Linked DNA regions of Homo sapiens: region 1 is linked to region 2. The links are contacts of gene promoters, found by promoter capture Hi-C in blood cells and fetal thymus (Javierre and others, 2016). All regions are on one chromosome and are shown on one strand. Each heading gives the region's core, a stretch centred on a gene start or on the middle of the fragment in contact. The rest is flanking DNA. Distances are from core to core; before and after follow the strand shown.

Region 1 (4,769 bases), core at 2,178-4,677, 920 kb before region 2:
CCTGGGCTCCCGGGAAAGACTCTGGCACTGGCCACATCTCTCCAGGTTCTGCCAATGTTTGCCAACCTCCAGGCATGGGCACCCCACCCTCTGGGAGAACAGCTTTCCCCTCTGATCATGATTCAGGATCCTAAGCACACCATGAACCCCAGTCTGGGCAGTGGTTAGAAATGCTAAGGGGTGCCCAGGTTGAGCAGCTCTCGAGTGGGGAGGAACAGAGTACGCAGGCAGAGCTCCTGAGGGCGTGGCTGCTGCACCAATGAACTCATCGACCTGAACCCCTGCCCCCCAGTCAGCGCAGCCCTCCTGCCATCCTCACTCACCACTGCTGGGCAATCCAGAATCAACCACCAAAGGGGAGGGGCCTGGAGTACAACCAGATGGGGTCTCCTGCCCCAAAGGAATGAAACTAACGCCAGGCAGGGCTCTGTTTCTCGACCGCACCATGTAAGGAGGGAATAAACTCCCAGCCAGAGGCAGTGTCCAGGGAGCAGGCAGACATGGGTGCAGGGTCGGGAGTGGGGGAGGGTCTGTTCTCCGACATCAGGTGCAGTGAAAATGGGCCTTCAATGACTTCCAAGCCAGCCTGCCGGGGGACAGTGGGGCCGGCCCTTCTGGGAAAGGGACCAAGCAGGATATAAGGGCCAGAATCGGCAGGGCCAGAGGGAGGGGGTGCTGAGCACTACAGACAGATCGACACTAGAGGGGAGATAAAAGGACAGAGACAAAAGATGGCTTACTTTTGAGAGGCGCTTGTGAGACTAAGACCATGCATGCAAAGAAGGTATTTGGGAAATGGTGGGGAAGAAGAGGAGAGGAAGAACAAGAAATCAAAAGACAAATTCAAGTGGGAAGCCAGCTCCCATGCCTCCCAGGGGTCCCCAACCCCTTCCCAGGCCCTGGGGGTCCCAGGGTGAAGAGAAGTTTCCTGAAGGAGACCCTGGGCAAAGACATCTCCTGCTCCCCAAAGGACCGAGGGTGGGGAAGACATCTCTGGGGAACCATAATTAGCCCAGGCCCCCCTGGGGCCTATTTTAGGCATATCCATGGGCCAAGGGCCCCGGTACTCAGGGGGCAGTCCTGACATCCTTGGGAGGATGGAAAGGCCCTGCCACCCTCCTCTCTGCCAGGTGAGTACCAAGTGGATTAGTGCAAAGGTAAGGCAGGAAGGATGGCCGGGGAGGAGGTTAAAAATAGCATTCTGCAAGGTTCCCTGAGGACTCTCCCTAGCAGTATAATGTCCCAAATAATGTTGCCTTCTACCCCGGCTCTAGGAACCAAATTTGAAAACGGTAGCAGGAATAAGCAGATGACCCCCTAATGATTCCCAGAGCGTCTCCCCTCCAAATCTAAAAAAAAAAAATATGAGCCTCCCTACCTCGCCCAGCCCACCAAGAATGCTTAGCGGGGAAGATATTTAACTAGGGTCTCTCCTGCCTGCCCCGCCTCACCTCACTGGATAATGACTGTCTCTGAGCCATCAGGGCTGTTCATCACGTGAGGACCCTCGCAGATGTTCTCCGGCTCACCACCCCAATATCGCTCCCCGCAGCCCCTGACAAGGAGGTACCGCCTCAACGGGGTCCCGCTCACCTTGGAATTCTTGCCGCCGCTCCGGCCGGACTGGGAGGAGCAGCTGCGCTGCACGCCCTGCTCCGGTGTGGACGGGGACTTGTCCGAGGAGTGATCTGAGCCCTTCTCCACCATGGTGTCTCCGTCCTGGTTCTGCGGGGTTGGCGAGCGAGACCGCTTCCGGAGGATGGGCGAGCAGGCCGGCGTGCTGCGGTTGGAGTTACTGGCAGTGCTGCAGCGGCAGATGGAGAGAGGGAGCGGGGTGGAAAGAGAAGGAGGAGGAAAGGCAGGCAGTCAGTGATCGAGGCCAAGGACAAGCCCAAAGGAGCCAGCTCAGGGAGCCAGGTGAGGGGCTGGGGAGAAACCGGGAGAGAGGGGCCCAGGCTGCGGCTTGCCGCACCGTAATACTGCCGTTGGCCACGGGAGGGCAGCAGTGCCCATGTGGACACAGACGCACGAGCCAACGGGCAATCGACATCTAGACATGCATCCGTCCATCCGTCCGTCCAACCTGTTATTGTTTGAGCCCCTATTATATGCCAAAAATTGTCTGGGGCATATAGAATTTAATACCTGAAAGGCTCACTGGAGACCATCCAATACAATCAGCTCATTTTATACATACTGCAAATGCAAAGCTTCTATATTTTGTTCAGATATTTTTGTTCATGAAAATAACAATTACAATCCTATTTTTCACAGCCTTCACATACGCATTATTTCTTAAAACATTCCACCAAGGGAGTAATGGCAAGTACCATAATCCCTATGTTAAAAAATGAAGACCAGTGCCTGACAGAGGGAAGCTAAATGCCCACTGTTGAGAGAAACAAAGTGCAGCTCTTCTGATTTGTAACTCACCCACACCATATTATTTCCTTGTAAGGAAGCCATGTGGGTTCCTGCTTCCTCTGCCCAGGGTAAAGATGCACACAGCCGAAGTTCTCACATTCCATATTCCCTTACCCCAACATTTATTCCCAATAAGTACCTTGTACTTCCCACAGGACCAAATCCACTTACATCAAGGCTTATAAGCTGCAAATAAAATATTGACTATTTGATATTTCACTTCCGTTTTCAATGGACTAGAAGAAGAGATGAGAGACAGAAGGGAGAGAGAAACTGAATGCAGTTGAATGTTTGCTTTGCTTCCGAGAGTGGAGAAAGGAAAGAGATGGAGAAAGGGAGAGGCTAAGTAGAAAGTGCCAGCAGAAATGGGAAGGAAAGGAAATGTGAGATTGGAAAGCCTGCACGGGGCTGCTGGGGTGTCCTGCCCACCTGCTCAGCAGCCTCTCAGCTGGGTCAGGCTTCAGGAACACCCTGGACCCCCCTGCAGGCTGCATCCCAGCCTTCCCTCGGGGAGTGGGGTGCAGGGCTGGGGACACTGTCATTTGCATGAAGATGCAGCTGTGACCTCAGATGTCCCATTGGCCCCATTTGCAATGAAAACCATGCCCCTTTCAGCAAAACCTTCCACCTGGACATCCTTAGCAGAGAGAAAGGCAACAAATCCCAAGAGCCTAAACCAGCGAGTGTGGGCAGGAGGGGAGCTGGGGGCAGGCAGTGCGGTAACTTTTGGAAGGAAACTGATAAAGAAAAAAAAAGGAGACCAGAGAAAAGGAAGATAAATGTGCCCCAAATATGTATGGAGAAAAGCAAGGCCCAATGTTCCACTTCATCCTAAAACAGAATTTGCATTTAAAATCTCATTTCTAATACTAACAATAATTGTTATTGGGGGAGGCCCAAGATGCCTCTTTCAAAAGAGGCTCTTCCCGTTTTTGCCCCACCCATTCCTTATCCTTACTCTCTAAACTCGTTTGCTACCATAAACTCTGGAGAAAGGAAGGTACCTTCCTTTACTTTGGTTAGAGATGCCAGGCCGTGGGGCTGGTGGCAGGCAGATCCATGAGTGCACAACCCCTGGGGAAGCGTGGAGAGCAGGTGCCAACACACGTCTTTCTGGGGTGAGCCTCCTTGCTCTAGGGCCAACTCAAGCCCGTAACCACATATTCCAAGGTTTAAACTGTCTTCTAGGATTATGTTACTAGAACAACGAGGACCTCTACCCTCTAGTCCCAACTATAATAGTTTGCTCAAAAAATAACTAGAGAAGTTGGGAGTGGTGGCATGAGCTGTAATCCCAGCTACTTGGGAGACTGAGGCAGGAGGATCATTTGAGACCACGAGTTTGAGACCAGCCCGGGCAACATGATGAGATCCTGTCTCAAAAAGAACTAGAAAAAGGATGACAATCAAGTACATGCCTATCTCAGACACAATGGCCCCCCAGCCGTTGTGTAATTTCCTCACAAATTCCAGACCCTGGAATGGAAAGGAGATTCCTTCATCCTTCCCCAAACCCAGAATCCCTGCTAACTGGCTTCAAGCAAGAGGTTGGCAACACACTCTAACCAGAGGAGAACTGACTCCAACTATCCAAAACCACACGAATCTCACATGAAATGATCAAAGCATGAGAACTCCTCACCGCCCAGCAGTCCCACTTTAGCCCACTCTACACACACCATGCAAAGATCTACACACCTAAAATGCTGCCTTCAACACATCAGCCAATAAACAACTTATACCATCTCTCTGTGCTCTTAAGGCTGTTGATCATCTGTGCTGTTCTTGGAAACTTCTCCCTGATGACAAGCACCTCTCTTCTACTCCTCTGCCGGTCTCAACTACTGTCTCAACTCTTGCTACCCAGCCTGCAATTAATCCTTCCCTAAAGGTGAGTCTGTCACCTCCCTGGCCGTCTCCAGCTTTCTCTAACTTCAACCAGGCAGAGACTCCTCTACCTGCTTCCGGCCCTGGTCACAGTCGCTAGCCTGACCCAACAACCTGCTGCCAGGTGGATGCTTCCTCCAGACAATGTCTCATGAGTGCCCCACACTGAACACAGAGCTGGACATCTTTCCTCCCAGACCTCCTCCCACGACTGCCCATTCTCAATGGCAGTTTCATTACCAGGTTTCTCAGGCTGCAGACCCCTCTCTTCCATCTCACTCCACTAAAAAATGAGTCACTGAATTCCACCAATTCTATTTCTACAAAGCTTTTTACCTCATCCTTCCCTTCCTTCCCCAGGGCCCCAGTTCAGGTTCAAGGAATTCTGCTCACCCTCTTCCAATAAATAGCCAGTTGAGTGGTCTTCTCTGCCTCCTTTTCCTCTTCCTACTCACTCA
Region 2 (5,528 bases), core at 1,697-4,196:
GTTTGAATCCCAGCTTCACTGCTTACTGTTGTGACCTTGAGCAAGTTATGCAACCCTTCTAAACCTCAGTTGCCCAATTCATAAAATGGGCATGTGGTACCTTCCTCATTGAGTTGCTAGGAGGATAAAATGGGTAATAAAGATATAAGTACTTAGAACAGTATGGAGTAAGTATTCAATACATGCTAGCTATTAGGAGACCTCAGGGGTTAAACAAGCCAAAAATGACCCTTATGCTAATCTGTCAAGACATGTCAAGACCTCCTGGACTCAGAGCAGGAGAAAAGATGTCCCTTTAAAGCTGATTTGAATTTGAATCTCAAATATGACTGAGGAGTTCAGTTAAGTATTTCTTCCCTTAATTAAGCAATTTAGGTTTTTAATGCTGGCCTTATTTCAAAAAAGGCAGTAGCCTGAGACTATGCTAATTCTGCAGCATTCCCCAGCTGACTTCCCCACTCCCACCTCCAGCTTTTTTTTTTTTTTTTTCTTGAGATGAAGTCTCGCTCTGTAACCCAGGCTAGAGTGCAGTGGTGCGATCTTGGCTCACTACAACCTCCACCTACTGGGCTCAAGCGATTCTCTTATCTCAGCCTCCCAAGTAGCTGGGATTACAGGCATGCACCACCCCACCCAGCTAATTTTTGTATTTTTAGTAAAGACAGGGTTTCACCATGTTGGCCAGGCTGGTCTCAAACTTCTGATCTCAAGTGATCCGGCTGCCTCAGCCTCCCAAACTGCTGGGGTTACACCCAGCCCCACCTCCAGTTTTTAAGGAGAGCTGTGCACATTGATCATCCACACCGACGACTTCACCTGAAGCGTCCACACCTGACACACCCCTGCAGAACCCACATTTTCTCCCTGTAATTCTGGTATCAGGAACTGGAGCCCTAGTATTAGGAAGTCGTATTGGGACGTCAGTGGAAGGCAGAAACCATCAGTCCATTTTGCAGCCTTCTAAGGCCACTCCAACGTGTCCCAGCAGCCTGGAGAATAACAAATTCAAGGGTCTACTTTGATTAACAGATTACAACCAAGTTAGTAGAGAATAAACAAGGTTTGCCCAGAGATAAGGGAGGGGAGACATAAAGTTATTGCCTGTAATCCCAGCACTTTGGGAGACCGAGGTGGGTGGATCACCTGAGGTCAGGAGTTCGAGACCAGCCTGGCCAACATGGCAGAACCCCATCTCTTCTAAAAATATAAAAATTAGCCCGGTGTGGTGGCGCATGTCTATGGTCCCAGCTACTCAGGAGGCTAAGGTGGGAGAATCGCTTGAACCTGGGAGGCGGAAGTTACAGAGATTGCGCCACTGCACTCTAGCCTGGCGACACAGCGAGACTCCGTCTCAGAAAAATAAATACATAAATAAAGTTATCACCTGAAAAAAAAATGTGAGAAGGGAAAAAAATAAAAAGGACTTTCATTTACTTGGCCCTCACTGATTAAGTTTGGCCAACTCTCCTGTTCAGGTGCTGTAATTCAAAGATGAAAAGAAGCTGCGCCCAGTCCGGACGCCAGGCCTTGTGTCCCCACCTAAGAAATCTGCACGGCAGGGATTAACCAGGGGAGAAGGGCCTGGCCGCTGGGCCTTGGCTTCCTCTTAGGCAGAGTTCCAGCCCCTGAGACTTGAGCCGACCGGCCTGAGACGACTCCGGCCGCCGCCACCCTATGCTGGCAAACAGGCCTCTCCCCAGCAGGCTCCAGGGGCAGCCACCTGCGCTCTCCCTGCCCTCCCCTACCCCACTCTCCTAGAGGAAGGATGAAGAACAGCTCCCCCTCCTTACTCTCAGGCACCCACAGATTTCTGAGCTGCCGTCACCACTGACGAGAACCCAGGTCCCCTGGAGGGATCGCTTCTCCTTCTGATTCCATCCTCCCCATCAATGAACACGCAGGAACACCCACGCTCCCGCTCCTCCTACTCCAGGGGGAGACCGAACCCGAGAGCGACATCCGGAGCTGGAAGCCGCTGCAACGGGGGCGCCGGCCTCCCTGCCCCGCAGTCTCCCGCCCTTTCCCAGACACCGGAGGATCCCAGACCAGCCCAGTATTCCAGACGGAGAGGGTGCCCGAGTCCTCCGCAGGGCCCCGCCTCCCTAGGCGCTCGGCGCTGGAGACCTAGGGGAGCGCGCGAGAGAAACGCTGAGCTCCACCCGGCTGGGGCGGAGGCTGAGCACTATACCCGGGACTCGAACCCCGCGCCCTCGTCCCCCAGCTTTAGGCATCCCACGGCGAGCCCTGGCCCAACGCCCCCGCGCCGCGTCTTCCCCCGCACCCCCGCCCGGAGCCGAGTCCCGGGTTGCCAGCGCGCCCATCCCGCCCCCAACAGGTCTCGGGCAGCGGGGAGCGCGCTGCCTGTCCCGCAGGCGCTGGGAGGCGAGCCGGAGCGAAGCCGAGGGCCGGCCGCGCGCGCGGGAGGGGTCGCCGAGGGCTGCGAGCCCGGCCACTTACGCGCGGGCTCTGGGGAACCCCATGGAGAGGAGCACGTCCAGCGCCGATCCATGCTTGATGGTGCCGGGGCGCTGTTGGCGGTTCCTCCGGGGGGTGACTTTGCTGTACAGCTCCTCTCTCGCAGCCATGCCGAGCGGACTGGGGTGGCCGTACTGAGCCATGGCTCAGCGGCCAGCCATCGCCAGGGAAGGAGCCCGAGCCGGATGGTTCGGGAAGGAGGAGGGAGTCGGGCTGGGCCAGGGGAGGGGGCTCGGGGACCCAGAGCCAGGCAGGAGGCGGCGGCAGCGGAGGCGGCGCTCCGAGCTTCCCCAGTGTCGGGACTCTGACGCTTCCTGGTGAGGCCACAGGAGCCAGAACGCCGGCAAGCGGCCGCTGCGGGACCAGCCTCAGCCACTCGGGCCCCCGGCTGCCCCCAGCTCTGCGCCTGCAGTAGCCCTGTCTCCTCCGCCCCCTTCCCTCTCCTCGCCTAGCAGTCCGGGAATTTGCAATGAGTAATTTTTGAATGGATCAAAAAGGAAAAGGAGCCTTGTGGGCTGGCCCTGACTTGCCTGTACCCGGGCCCCGCCCCTCTCTTAAAGCGGCCGCGCTGTCCGAGGCTGCTCCGTGCGGGCAAGAGCTGTAGTCGCGCTACTTGGAGACGGAGGATCCCAACCTTATGGGCTGCTTGTGTGCTTCACCTCCCGAGAGTCACCCCCGGCGCCCCAGCCCTCTCCTTGGCTGGCATACCCGCCCAGCTGGGCCTCAAGACAGGAGATCAACCCATCTCAAGTTTCATGTGATTCTAGATGCGGTTATTAATGGAAATTGGGTGAACTGGTGGATGATACTAATGGACCAGAAGGCCAAGCCGTAAGGCCTAGGTAAAAGGTTTTGCTTCTCAAAGATCCTGCAAAACCCAAAGGGTTGTTAGGACCATCGGAAGTTGAGTTCCCAATCAGCCGGCCAAGTGGCTGCACTAAAGACCTACTGCGCTCTACAAGGTTATGGTCAGTGACTGAATAGTGCCTTCCCGGTGGGGCAGAGGGGTTGGGGAGAAGGACCTCAGGTTCTCAGAGGTGGCAGGACCTGGGAGGGGACAAGAAAAGAGGGACAGGGCAGAAAGAAGAGGGAAGGGAAAAAGAAAGGAGGAAGGAGGAGGAGAAGAAGGAAGGGCTAGGAGGGTAGAGGAAGAAGGAACAGAGAAAACATACTTCCTAATTATAAGAGGTGTTCAAAAGGGAACGGGCTTATTTCATTAGGGAGTGGATATCCTGTCAATAAAAGGATTCAAAGACGGACCGAATCACCACTGCACAATAATAAGTGAATTGTATCATAGGCTGGACAAAACTACTCCCACTGCAAAGATGGTGGAAGCCACAACCATATTGATGCCCCATGCCCCACCTGGTGAATTTGGCTGGGGGATGCTAACCCTCTTTCGTTTGGAAACAAAGTCATTGTCTTCAGTCAGGGACAAGGGTCCCACTTGCTATAATGAAAGAGGCAATGAGTACACCCTAACTGATAGTCTTTTTTGGGTAATAATAATAATAAAACCTAACATTTATTGGGCTCTTGTATGTGCCAGTCATTGTGCTAATCGTAATGAATGAACTCACTGAAGTTTTATACTGACCCTAGGAGTGTGTTTAATCATTATCCCAGTTTTACAGATGAGAAAACTCAGCTCAGAGAGGTTGGGGAAGATCATAGAGCTGGTAAGTGCGTAGCTACAGCACTCGTATCCACTGCGGTGCCTTAGACAAGTTACTTCTCTCTACAGCCTAATTTCCTCATTGGTATGGACCGTGGTAACCTAACCTTGCACACACTGGGTTTTCCAGAAATGTCAGTCCGGGCCTGTCCCTGGTTGGAATATGGGGGAGGGATGGTGACCAGCACCCATGGAGTGGCTTTTTGAGGTTGCTTTATAAGGCCTGTGAAGGTTTTACCAGGGGAAATGATACAGTGTAACTCCCTGAGCCCGGAATTGGTTTCCTAAAGAATAGCCAGTGGTGTTTGGAAGCAGGGAGATAAGACAGCTGGAGCTTAAGCAACAATGTGTATTAATTCTGCCTCCTGCTGTACAAAGGATGAGGGAAAATTAATGCTTCCTGGGTAGTAGCTGCTTCCAGAGCAAAGGGGATATCCTGGAGACCTTGCAGAATGCTCTTCCAGGACATGGAGCAAAAAGACAAGACTGGGCTGGCAACACCATACCTAGTATTAGCCTCCTTGGATGTGTTCGGTAAAACATGCTGGATTTTATCCAGTATTCTGAATTGTTTCCAAATGCCTGGGCTGAAAGTCAAATGATCTGGATCTTAGTCAAGAGATAATAATGTATGTGAAAGCGCTTTGTAAACCATAAAGCGCTACATAAATGATAACTCAAATTTATTGAGTACTTACTATATGCTGGTGTTGTTCTTTGCTTCTTACATATGTGACTCAAACAATTCCTTGACAAGACTATGAACTAGGAACTACTTTACAAATGAAGGTGCTGAGCCAGAGGTCAAGTATCTTGTCCAAGGTCACATGGCTAGTAAATGGCAGAGCCAAGATTTGAACTCTTAACATTTGGCCAAACAACTAGTTAACGACCATTGTTATGATGATAAAAGGACACCAGCCTTTAAGATAGTTTTTTGACTCCATCTATGCCCCTTGACATAGAATTGCTGGATCTCTGTTTCTCCAGAAAAATTGAATTAATTGTCTTTCTCCCTGCCTTTAGGCAAACTGTAAGATAAAGGAAATGATGCATATAAAAATAGTTTTAGGTAGACTGGAAAAAGCACTATGAAAAACTAGGCACCTGAGATGCAAACTGTTTTTGTCTGGGACACTTTTACAGAAATCCCAGCTTGGCTTCCTCACTTGTCTTCAGCTCAGTGCAAACCCCTGTTTTATTTAGGACTCCTGCCATTTGTTCTGCACTGGGTTGGGGGGCTGGCAATTCAGATGCATTGTGCTTTAATTGTGTTGACGTTGAAAAGCTAGGAAAAGCTTCATAAATGTCTACACTGTTCTATTACAAAGAGAGAAGAGGGGGGCTGGGTGCGGTGGCTCACCCCTGTAATCCC

What was found. Contacts are between HindIII fragments. The CHiCAGO score rates a contact against its expected background, and 5 or more counts as called.
Region 1: a fragment that was not itself captured here is called in contact with the fragment with the promoter of UBASH3B in region 2 in 1 of 17 cell types (neutrophils); the score reaches 5.1 in neutrophils.

The regions. Positions count from the first base shown.
Region 1 is chr11:123,574,402-123,579,170 of GRCh38, reverse strand. GRAMD1B (GRAM domain containing 1B) reads right to left here. Exons shown (of 20, transcript NM_001387025.1): 3 at 1,594-1,804. Among named protein-coding and RNA genes, the nearest start is that of SCN3B, 78 kb to the left of the region's middle. RefSeq lists a silencer at 1-54 and enhancers at 1,255-1,792, 2,391-2,890, 2,891-3,392. The HindIII fragment of the contact is 2,429 bases long and covers 2,213-4,641 here.
Region 2 is chr11:122,653,140-122,658,667 of GRCh38, reverse strand. It overlaps UBASH3B (ubiquitin associated and SH3 domain containing B), which reads right to left and starts at 2,946. Exons shown (of 14, transcript NM_032873.5): 1 at 2,458-2,946. The coding sequence starts at 2,618. RefSeq lists a silencer at 2,287-2,336 and an enhancer at 2,540-3,041. The HindIII fragment of the contact is 6,403 bases long and covers 1-5,453 here.